Linked DNA regions of Homo sapiens: regions 2 and 3 are each linked to region 1. Evidence: promoter capture Hi-C in 16 types of primary human blood cells and fetal thymus (Javierre and others, 2016). All regions are on one chromosome and are shown on one strand. Each heading gives the region's core, a stretch centred on a gene start or on the middle of the fragment in contact. The rest is flanking DNA. Distances are from core to core; before and after follow the strand shown. Region 1 holds the start of NPEPL1 (aminopeptidase like 1). Region 2 overlaps ANKRD60 (ankyrin repeat domain 60). Region 3 has its middle 13 kb from the start of ANKRD60.

Region 1 (3,339 bases), core at 398-2,897:
TCCTCTGGAGTGCCGTGTGCCTGTCTGCAACGTATTTGCAAACAGAAAAAAGAGTGAGAGATCTTCATACACACTGTTAGTACCCTTTACCAATGTGTGAAAACATTCAGCTGCTGTAAAATCTTTTGAAGAAAATAAGATCCAATTAGCGTTGACTTTTATGTCGGGAAAGCTGAGGGTTTCAAAGGAATGCCTTTCAGTCATTCAACAGCTTTTTTTTTTTTTTTTTTTTTTTTTTTTTTTTTTTTTGAGTGCCTGCTCTGTGCCAGGAACTGGAGGAAAAAAAAACAACAAAAAGTCAAAAAGACCTGCCTTCAGGATGCTGAAGCTCTAGTCTGTGGTGTTTCCAAGGGGCCAGGGACCATGGCTCAGAGCTGAGCAGACAGACCTGGAGCCTGTGGACAGGGAAGGTGAAAGCCTGGCTTGTGGCTCCCGGGGCTACAAGTTAGGGAGCTAGGGGGCCAGCTGGGAGGTCAGTGGTGGAAAACCTCTCACACCACGCCAGGGAGTTGACAGTGCTTTTTTTTCTTTTTTTCTTTTCTTTTTTTTTTTTTTTTTTTTTCATTTTTAGGCTGGTTATGAAGAAGAAACTCAAAATAACAGGAGTGGCTTATGGAACTACATGGAGGTAACAGAGGAGGGTACCAACCAAAGGCCCTTGAGCAATCAGGATGTTGGGTAACAGATTTTTGCTTTTAAATGACTCCTGGGTGGAGCTTCCCCAATGCATCGTCATTCCCTGACCCTTGCATCTGACCCTGTGGGTGGGACCCTCCGCCTCCACCATCCACTCAAGGCTCACCCCTGGCTCCTCCACCACCCGGCTCCTGCCCCACACCCCCGATGGCCTTTCCTCCCCTGTAAGGCGACTGAGGTGACTCAGGTCACCCTGCTCCTTCCTCGTCTCATCTCGTCCCTCCTTTCCTGCTTAGACTGTGCCAGATGACCCTTCTTGCAAAGGGGTGGGCGGGAAGGCCCCCCATGCAGCCAGGCAGTGCCTGGATTTGTAACTGGCCATCCCAGCAGCAGTGCCCTGGATGGAAAGCCACGTCCCTGTCACCCTCTCACATCCAGGGCAGTGCCTGGCAGAGCGGGGTCTGATAAACGCCAGGGAACCTCCGATTAAGTGAGGAGGAAGTGACCGTCCACGCTGTACCCACCATGCCAGGCAGTGGGACAAAAGGACCTGACTCAGGTCCAAGAGTCACTGGGCCCCTCCGGCCTAACTGATGGGTGGCCAGGGTGCGGGGTCCCTGGGGATCAAAAGCAGCTGCTAAGGGACCTCGGGGGACCTGCTTGGGGCCAGCCTGAGGCCTGACCGGGCGGAACTGCGTCGGGTGGGCTTGGGCCTACGTCGGCCCAGGCCCCACTGGAGGCCAGGCCCGTCCGGGAGGCGCTGCCTGGCGGGCCACGTCGCCCCGCGTGTTGGGCAGGGCCGCTAGGCCCAGGGGCGGCGCCGCTGGAGGCCGGGCGCGCGGGCCCTACTCGGCAGGGCCTGCTCGGGGCCGGCTTCGGGCCTGCCCGGCCGGGCCTGCCCGCACCCTTCCGCCCGGCCTGGCCGGCGCCCCCTCGCGCCCCGGGCGGGCCCTGCACGTCTCGCGAGCAGCCCGGAGCGGCGGGGGAGGCGGGGCCCGCGGGCTGCCGGGCAGGGCCGGGGCGGTGCCGAGGCCGGGCCGGAGCGGGGCGAAGGGGGCCGAGCGGCGGGCCGGGCCGGGCCGGGCAGGGCCGGGGCGTGGGCCGGCAGGAAGATGGCGAACGTGGGGCTGCAGTTCCAGGCGAGCGCGGGGGACTCGGACCCACAGAGCCGGCCCCTGCTGCTGCTCGGGCAGCTGCACCACCTGCACCGCGTGCCCTGGAGCCACGTCCGCGGGAAGCTGCAGCCCCGGGTCACCGAGGAGGTGAGCGGGCCGCCGGCCGCCATGCGACCCGCGCCGCGGAAGCCCAGGCCCGGGCGGCCCGCGGAGGCCCCGCCTCGCCCGCCGCACCCCCGCCGCCGCCGGGCCGGGCCCAACGAGGCCGGGCCGCCTCCCTGAAGGGCTCAGCCGCCAGGCCAGTCCTCGCCCGCGGAGGCCCAGCCCCAGGCCCCGTCGCCGGTGCGGCGCGGTGGTCCTCCTGTCAGCCCAGCCCTGCGCCCCGCGAGGCCGCGACACCTGCGGACGGCGGGGGGGGAGACGTGGCCGCTCCCAGGGCCGCGCGTCGGCCCCGCCTGGCGACAGGCCCTGGCTTCCAGAAGTTCCCATGGCAGTGTCCCCAGCTGCCTTTCCTTGGGGACACCTGGCCCCTGCCCCCTCTCTGGTGGAAGCCGCCTAAGCCCTATCCGAGTGTTGGAAGCAAAGCAGCCCCCAGCCTGGCCCTTCCAGGCTTGGTGGCTTCATCCCACCAGGGGGATGCGAGCCAGCCTAGAGACAGTTAGCTCTGCAGAGAGGCGACACATCTCCCTAAGGATGGGAAAACGGTGGCCGGGAGCTGCGCAGTGCCCTTCCAGGACTGCAGGAGTGGTTGTGGCCGTGGCTGCAGGGCAGGGCCTCCTGGCACGTGGCCGCTGTTTGAAGCCTCTGTGTCTTGTCTCTCCCTTCTGATCTAGCTCTGGCAGGCTGCCCTGAGCACGCTCAACCCCAACCCCACGGACAGCTGTCCCCTCTACCTGAACTACGCCACCGTGGCTGCCCTGCCCTGCAGGGTGAGCCGGCACAACAGCCCCTCGGCCGCCCACTTCATCACGCGGCTGGTGCGGACCTGCCTGCCGCCCGGAGCGCATCGCTGCATTGTGGTGAGTGCTTCGAGAGGAGGCAGCCACGGTGCTCCTAGTCGGGCAGCGGTGAGCTCGGGCCTGGGGAGCTCACAGCCCTGCTCAGACTGCAGCGCACGCCCAGAGGGCTGTGGACGTTATCATCCCTGCTCTGTAGACAGGGAAACAGGTCCAGAGAGACGCGGGGATTTGCCCCAGATCAGTTTTGGTGGCAAATCAGAGACTCAAACCTAGATTTCCTGAGGCCCACTTTGTGTCTGTCCCTCTGTCCCTCATTTTCATGGCTGGTCAGGCTGTTGACATCTGGTGGCCAATGTGTTATTTCTCTTGGAGCATGACCAATGGTGGTCCCATGGTTCCGGGGATGACCTGAGGGATGGGGTGGCGGCTGCTGTGGGACATCTCTGTCTAGATGTCACCTGCCAGGGAGCTGATGTTCCGGAGGCGTTCAAAGAGCAGCTCCCTGCACTCCCTGGTGGCGGCCCTTGCACCCCTCACGCCGTCTCCCTATGTGCCACAGATGGTCTGCGAGCAGCCGGAGGTCTTTGCTTCCGCCTGTGCCCTGGCCCGGGCCTTCCCGCTGTTCACCC
Region 2 (3,339 bases), core at 267-2,766, 470 kb before region 1:
ACTATTTTGGGGTTTTTTCTAGTGTGTGTGTGTGTGTGTGTGTGTGTGTGTGTGTGTGTGTGTGTGTTGTAGTCTCCTATCTCAGCCTCCTGAGTAGCTGGGACTACAGGTACGTGCCACCACACCCAGCTAATTTTTGTATTTTTAGTAGAGACGGGGTTTCACCAGGCTGGTTGGCCAGGCTGGTTGTGAACTCCTGACCTCATGTGATCTGCCCGCCTCAGCCTTCCAAAGTGCTGAGATTACAGGCATGAGCCACCGTGCCTGGCCAGAGGCTAGACCATTTCGGACCATTGCAGCATCCTAATTTCATGCGAGGCTGGAAATCACACAGACAGCATGCGAATATTCCCAGCAATGTGTCTGGTGAGAAATGAACCAGGGATCCTTTATAGCTGCCGCCTGTGTCTTGGGTCCTGAAATTTCTGCCTCACTGAAGCAGAAAGAATCTTCTCGAGACCTGGTGAAGAGAAGGAGGGCAGCCTCTGACTGGCGTGCCCTAAGACACTTGCCTAGACAGGGAGTGAGTGGCACCATGGGGACCCTGACTGGTGGCTGACAAGACACAGGTCCAGGAAACCACTGCTGGAAGGACTGGGAACACAAGACACTCTGTCCTTTCTACCTGCAAAAAATCCCAACTCATGAATATAGCAAGCTTTCTACCAGAATTACCGTGTTCTAGAAGGTACTGCACAGCATCAAAGTGGCCTCTGTGTGAGGCCACATACAACGCCACAAACGCCCTCTGAGACGTCCAGTGCTTCCACTTCTCACCCTCAAAATGTTCTGAATTTGCGGTTCGGTAGAAGGAATCTTCAGTAAGCCCGAGACAAGATAGCTGGGCAAGACAAGAGGAGTTTGAGTTATTCTCAAAAGCGTGGCTACATTTTGCTGGACGGCTGATGGGGCATGCTCAGGGGAAGGCTTGCTTGAATGTCAAATTAAGGCTCATGATGGGAAAAGAGAGGTGCAAACCCTCATGAAAAGCTGAGAAACACCCAGGACAGCATGGGGAGGCCATGATTTAATGCTTTATATATGTTCAGGAAATACGAATTCGCCGTCAGTCAGGCTCGGAACACAGGAAGGTCTTCCTGTCAATGTTTTGAAGAGAGAAAATAGCTTTGCCAGGTGTCCACAGGAAGGTGGTTGAAGCCACTGAGGAAGACACCAGCCAATATAAATGGCCTCCCAGAGGGTGACAGTCATCTCTTGGAGACCGGATCTGGCTTTCCCGTCTATTTGTGTGCCCACTGTCTCCATTAGGTTTCAGAGCAAGCTGAACATGCACAGGTGAACAGCCCGGTCACGTAACCACCTCGTGGTGAATTAAGTCTTTGAGCCTGGGAGGAAGGCTACGGGTTCCCCCAGGGAGGATACTCTGCCCTGATATGGGAGTCAGGACTGGGGCAGTGGGAGGATCAGAATCGAGACGAGGATGATGGCAATTCTGACAGCCTCAAACAGCAGGGAGGTGACCCCTGCAGCCAGAGTAAGAGCCAGAAAACCAAGCATGGACCACACTGCTGGTGACAAAGGGCAGGGAGACAGAAGGGGCAGAGGAGAGTGTGGAGGAGGAGGAGCGGGAGGGACTAGGAGATGTGTCAGGGCTGGGACAGGGCCCCATCCTGCCTACCCTCCCTGCCAAGGCTGCCTCCTGCCGCACCTGCCCCGAGCCCACGCACTCTTCCAAGAGCGCCAATCCCAGCCCCTGCTACACCCAGCCTTCCCTGACCCCTTTCTGAGCAAAGAAACTCCATCTCTTCTTCTCCAGGAGCACATAGCTTTCCATCCGAATTTCTTTTCTAGGAAGAATATAGCATTGCCCCTCGTGTCACAGTGATTCATCTTCCCTGTTGGGTACACATCTGGTTTCTATCCTCCTGCCCCCCACTGCCCACCCCTAGAGCCCAGCTGAGAGGCCAGCAGGAGCCCTGGAGGACAGAGCGCCCGCCGCTCACCCCGGGAACGAGGGGCCTCTCCCTCCGGAACCAGGCAGCACCTGGCGGAGGCCTGTACCACAGCCCCGAGCTCTGAGCTGTACGCTTCTCAGTTATCTGGAGTTCTCCTCTCAGTATTAAATTAGATTTCCAACCTTATCACTTATAAACATGAATAGAAACGTGCTGCCTCGACTCCTTTGCGGGGAGGGGTGGGGCGGTAAGTGGGTTATAAATCACAAATCGATAAACCCAGCAAAATGGTAAACCCAAGGAGTGAAGGCAAACCCTCAGTGCGGTATTTCATAATTATGACACGGCTCATCGTTCTCTCTTCCCTGCTCTGAAACTGTTATTCACATATCCGTATTAAAGACTAATTTTCCCCCCACAATTTACGGTTGCTTCGTAACGTATAATATCCATTTAAAGAAGCTTGAAAACACCTTGCTGGGATCCCCTTCCACAGCCGCCAAAACAAGTTCTGTCCATCCGTCATGATGCCAGATACATAATGAAATAATCCCTCCAGGAACAACATCATGGAACTTCAGGGTAGTGTCATCCATCAAAACTCCTGCAGGGAAAAATTTTTTTTCTTTTAAAAAATTGGGTATTAAAGATAAACTACTACATTGGTTAAGTTAAGAGATTATCTGACCTTGAGTGCCACAAAGATAATTTTAGAAATATCGAATACAAATCTCATTTGATGGTGTCGCGTGGGTCTGTCTGTTGTTGGTAATGCTTTTCAGAAAATAAATTTGGTTCAGCTCAGATGGAAGCCGAACAAAATCACAATGCCAACGATTTATAAAATTCTGTAATTATAACTTGTCCTATTGTGAAAAGGCACATGAGTCAGTAAAGTCATTTTATGAGGCAAACTCTACAAATAGAATGACTTAAACCTGAAGTAACCAGTCATTAGACACACAGCACAATGTGGTTATACAAATCATATAGGGTAAACCAAAATACTCTTGGATAATGTCATTACCTGGCTAAAGAGGTGACAATGACAAAAAAAATGTTGGATCTTTCAAATTGAAGCGTGGGAGGGATTTTTCCACCTTGGCACTGCTGACAGTTTAGACTGGGTAACTCCTTGTGGCAGGGGCCCCTCCTCGTTGTCTGGTGTTCACAGCTTCCCGGCCTCTACCCACTAGATGCTAGCAGCACGTTCACCAAATCAAGACAATCAAACATGCCTCCAGGCCCAGCACAGTGGCTCACACCTGTCATCTCAGCACTTTGGGAGGCTGAGGTGGGCAGACTTTGAGCCCAGGAGTTCGAGACCAGCCTGGGCCACATGGCAAAAACCCGTCTCTACAAAAAATACAAAAATTATCTGGGCCCGATGGCTCACACCTGTGGTCCCAGCTACTCAGGAGGC
Region 3 (3,339 bases), core at 412-2,911, 450 kb before region 1:
TTGAGAATGGAGACTGCCTTCTCTTTTCTTACAACTGCCCCAAGAACCTAGCACCTGAGACCTTATACTCTGATAATCACGTCTATGTTTGACTGTGCTTGACTGAGATAGAACTCAATCAAATCAGTGTTAGATGTCTTATTTTTTTCTCATATTAGTTTGCTTTATTGAAAACACTATTATAGATTGTTCAGAAGCTTAAACACTACCTTACAATTAATTTTTTACAATTAGCAACACGAAATATGAATTAAAATATGTAATCAATATTGATAGAAGAAAAAATATTTGGTTCCAATTCTTAAAGTTAACTTTAAGAAAATACACAGTTTTGAGTTGCCTCCCCGCCCCCCCGCCCCCGAAAGAAACGAACCTGTAATTTAGATTTATTCTCTTCAAGTGGGGTGGGATCCTGCCTCTGGTCAGTCTCCAGATGGTCACTGGTTCCATTTCTGGGTCCACCTGGATCCTACAGAGTTGATTGGACATGTTACCAATTTGCTCCAAAGGAAGCAGCTGTCCTGTCACTTCCCCTTCAAAGAGTCCTTTTTCAATGCCAGAAATTACTTCTGTAAGCCAAGGCAAAAGCTTTCCTTGAAGTCAATGGTATCTTTCCAGATGTTAAAAATTACATTTGCACAGTTACATATGATACTGTATAAACCAGTTCTTTTAAGTGCAAAGGAAAATTGATTTCATACATTTTAATTTCAAGACTGCTGGAGGTCCTTACAGAAATACAAAGGCTAAAGTGAAAGCACTGAGGAGCAACCCTGTGAGTTTGCATCCACTATTCCTTATGCCCTAGGGACTCCCTGGTATGGCTAACCAACACCTTTAAGTAATATTCACATGTTTAAGGCACAGACTACTCCAGAAGGGTGAGGTTTGCAAGAAGTGGTAGAGCCAGCACCTCCAGCATTTCTTGGTAATCAGGGATTGCAGCAATGGTGGGTCCCTGAAAGAGGATGGGGGCTGGGGAACCCAATGAATCTGAGAGAAAAGATGTGGCTGATACAGGAGTATTTAATCAGAAAATTGTCCTAGATTTTCACAGGTACAAACACTCCTGATGTTCGCTGATAAACCTTTACATTAGGTAAACAATTAAAATGAACAAGAACATTCAATGGTGACATTTTGGTCTCTGATCGTTGATTAACATTAACTGAGATGGACCTGACCTTCTCCTTCAACCATAACATGGATTTCCAAGTTGCACTTGAAATGTCATACTGTCTACCAGCTTAATGGATTCTGACAAATCAGCTCAATGTATGATCCAGGAAAGTCGATTAACACACCGATAGATGCTTCGTTTGCTCTGAGGCGCGCCACCAGAACCTTCAATTCCCAAGGTTTTCACTGATATGTACTATTTATTTTAACAGAGGACATGATAAAACAGAAATATTTTGGTATAAAAACCTAAGACCTCAATTTCTTGTGGTCTTATTATTAATAAATTCACATATAGTAACAAGATGTGTCATTAGAATCACTATTATCCCTTTAGAAATTAATTTTATTCCAAAGTCTTCAGTGCAAGCATATGTGCAGCACTTAATCCAGGAGCCAAATCAAGGCTTAAGCAAATCACCACAAGTCATGGCACCTCCAGAAGGTATTGTGAGTTCCCCAAACCCCAGTGGGACACCATGCTGGCTGGCTACCTGTGCACCCACCACTCAGCATCCAGCAGCCTTCTTTCTAGCAGGATCCCGACTCAGGGGGCTCCCATGTTTCTGCCCAGTTCACCATGCTCAACCCATGAATGCACACCGTGACTGTGGCCAGGAAGAGGGAGGCAGAAGGAGAGGGCAGGGAGGTGGTTTCCCGCCTGGGGTGTCCTTGTTCTTCAAAAGAGACAAGTGGGAAGACACAGGCCCCGCCTTCCACTGGGCATTTCATGCTGACAAAAGCCACCACAGCAGAGGGGAAGGGTGGACAGATCAGCACCAAAGGTATGGAGTCTAGCAGCCCAGAAGCTGCCCAACCACAGCACTTCTTCCTCTTGTCTTGTGCAAGAGAACATTTTCCTCATGGTTCTTGGAGTTTTTTATTTCCTCTCCCTTCTTTTGCGACAGGAAGCATCCTAATTAATCCCACTAGGATCTTGGAGTCAAGCCGCAAATTCAAGGGCTCTGCCCTCCCACACCATAAAACAGGCTCCATTACACAAACCCTTTTAAAGCTGCAACTCAAAAGCCCCAGCCTGGAGGAATCTGTTCTTTTTTTTTTTTTTCACCTCTATGATAAAGAAGTCCAAATACTATCACATCCCCACCAAGGTAAATGTGGTCACACCCTTCTACTTAACACTTGCAACTTTTGCACTCTAGGTAACAAGGTTGACAATAATGAGCTTTCTTGCTAATTTTTTTAGCAACAAACCAGCAGAAGAGGATATCACCCCATTTCTTATTAATCACAGATAACCAACTCCTACACATTTTATGTTTGAGTTCTAAAATGTTTTATTTTGCTTTATTAGAGCAGGCCTAAGGGGTAAGGGAGGTGTTAATCACTGAAATCAAGTTCTAAACTGTATGAATAGAGAAACAACTGGTATTTAGGCCCTGGAGACCATGAGATTGAAGAGATTATCCATCATGGCACATGATAATGACACGGTGCTATCCCAATGACTGTATGACCACAGACTCCTCCCTCATTTTAATCCTCCATTCTGCCCCCCTACCTGTGGAAGACCCCAACTTAAAGTGGTCCAAGTGGAAGCTTAGTAGAAACTAGGACAGCTCAAGAACCTCCAGCTACAAGGGGTTGACCCAAGCTCCTGGAGAAACCTGAAGAAATAAATCATGGGCCCCTCTTCACTCCAGCTTTGGGGCCGTGGTCTCACAAGGGGCTGGTTCCACCCACAGGAGGAAGGGGGTCACTGGTGCTTTTTCAAAAGAAAGAGAAACAGCATGCCAGGACCAGCACTGGAGCATCCACGTATGCCAGAGCGCCTACCAAATGGGCGGCTGGTGTGACAGCTGCTCTGGGAGGCCTCGTCCACTTGAAATTCCAGGAACTGCCTGAATTCACCCTCCACTATTATTAAAAGATGTTGATGTCTGTTAGCAGTGACACAGAGCATTTACATGGTTAACCTCCCCAAAGAAGAAGTTCTTGTCATCTCTGGAGAAGAGGGAAGGTACTTTCTGGTGCCCACCCGTCTTCGTGGGAGCGCGTCGGCACTATCAATCACCTGATTGATTGGTTGTCTAGTTATCCAAAACATGACCTTAAGAATAAAATGAAATTTGCCATTTATCATCTCTGCTGGGATATATTAATAAGAGAAAATGCTGCTTTGTGATTTCTGTCACATCC

What was found. Contacts are between HindIII fragments. The CHiCAGO score rates a contact against its expected background, and 5 or more counts as called.
Region 2: a fragment that was not itself captured here is called in contact with the fragment with the promoter of NPEPL1 in region 1 in 1 of 17 cell types (activated CD4 T cells); the score reaches 5.2 in activated CD4 T cells.
Region 3: a contact is called between a fragment that was not itself captured here and the fragment with the promoter of NPEPL1 in region 1, in 10 of 17 cell types (total B cells, naive B cells, megakaryocytes and 7 more). The highest score is 9.9, in total B cells.

Annotation. Positions count from the first base shown.
Region 1 is chr20:58,691,153-58,694,491 of GRCh38, forward strand. It overlaps NPEPL1 (aminopeptidase like 1), which reads left to right and starts at 1,648. Exons shown (of 12, transcript NM_024663.4): 1 at 1,648-1,898; 2 at 2,585-2,770; 3 at 3,270-3,339. The coding sequence starts at 1,749. It overlaps STX16-NPEPL1 (STX16-NPEPL1 readthrough (NMD candidate)), which reads left to right. Exons shown (of 23, transcript NR_037945.1): 9 at 1-75; 10 at 253-410; 11 at 572-628; 12 at 2,585-2,770; 13 at 3,270-3,339. RefSeq lists enhancers at 1,081-1,786, 3,227-3,339 and silencers at 1,284-1,773, 1,784-1,943, 1,974-2,053, 2,074-2,163. The HindIII fragment of the contact is 11,943 bases long and covers 1-3,339 here.
Region 2 is chr20:58,220,663-58,224,001 of GRCh38, forward strand. It overlaps ANKRD60 (ankyrin repeat domain 60), which reads right to left. Exons shown (of 4, transcript NM_001304369.2): 2 at 2,390-2,520; 3 at 676-841. Among named protein-coding and RNA genes, the nearest start is that of ANKRD60, 6.3 kb to the right of the region's middle. The HindIII fragment of the contact is 1,720 bases long and covers 657-2,376 here.
Region 3 is chr20:58,240,142-58,243,480 of GRCh38, forward strand. It overlaps the pseudogene PPP4R1L. Among named protein-coding and RNA genes, the nearest start is that of ANKRD60, 13 kb to the left of the region's middle. RefSeq lists an enhancer at 1,323-1,823. The HindIII fragment of the contact is 2,151 bases long and covers 587-2,737 here.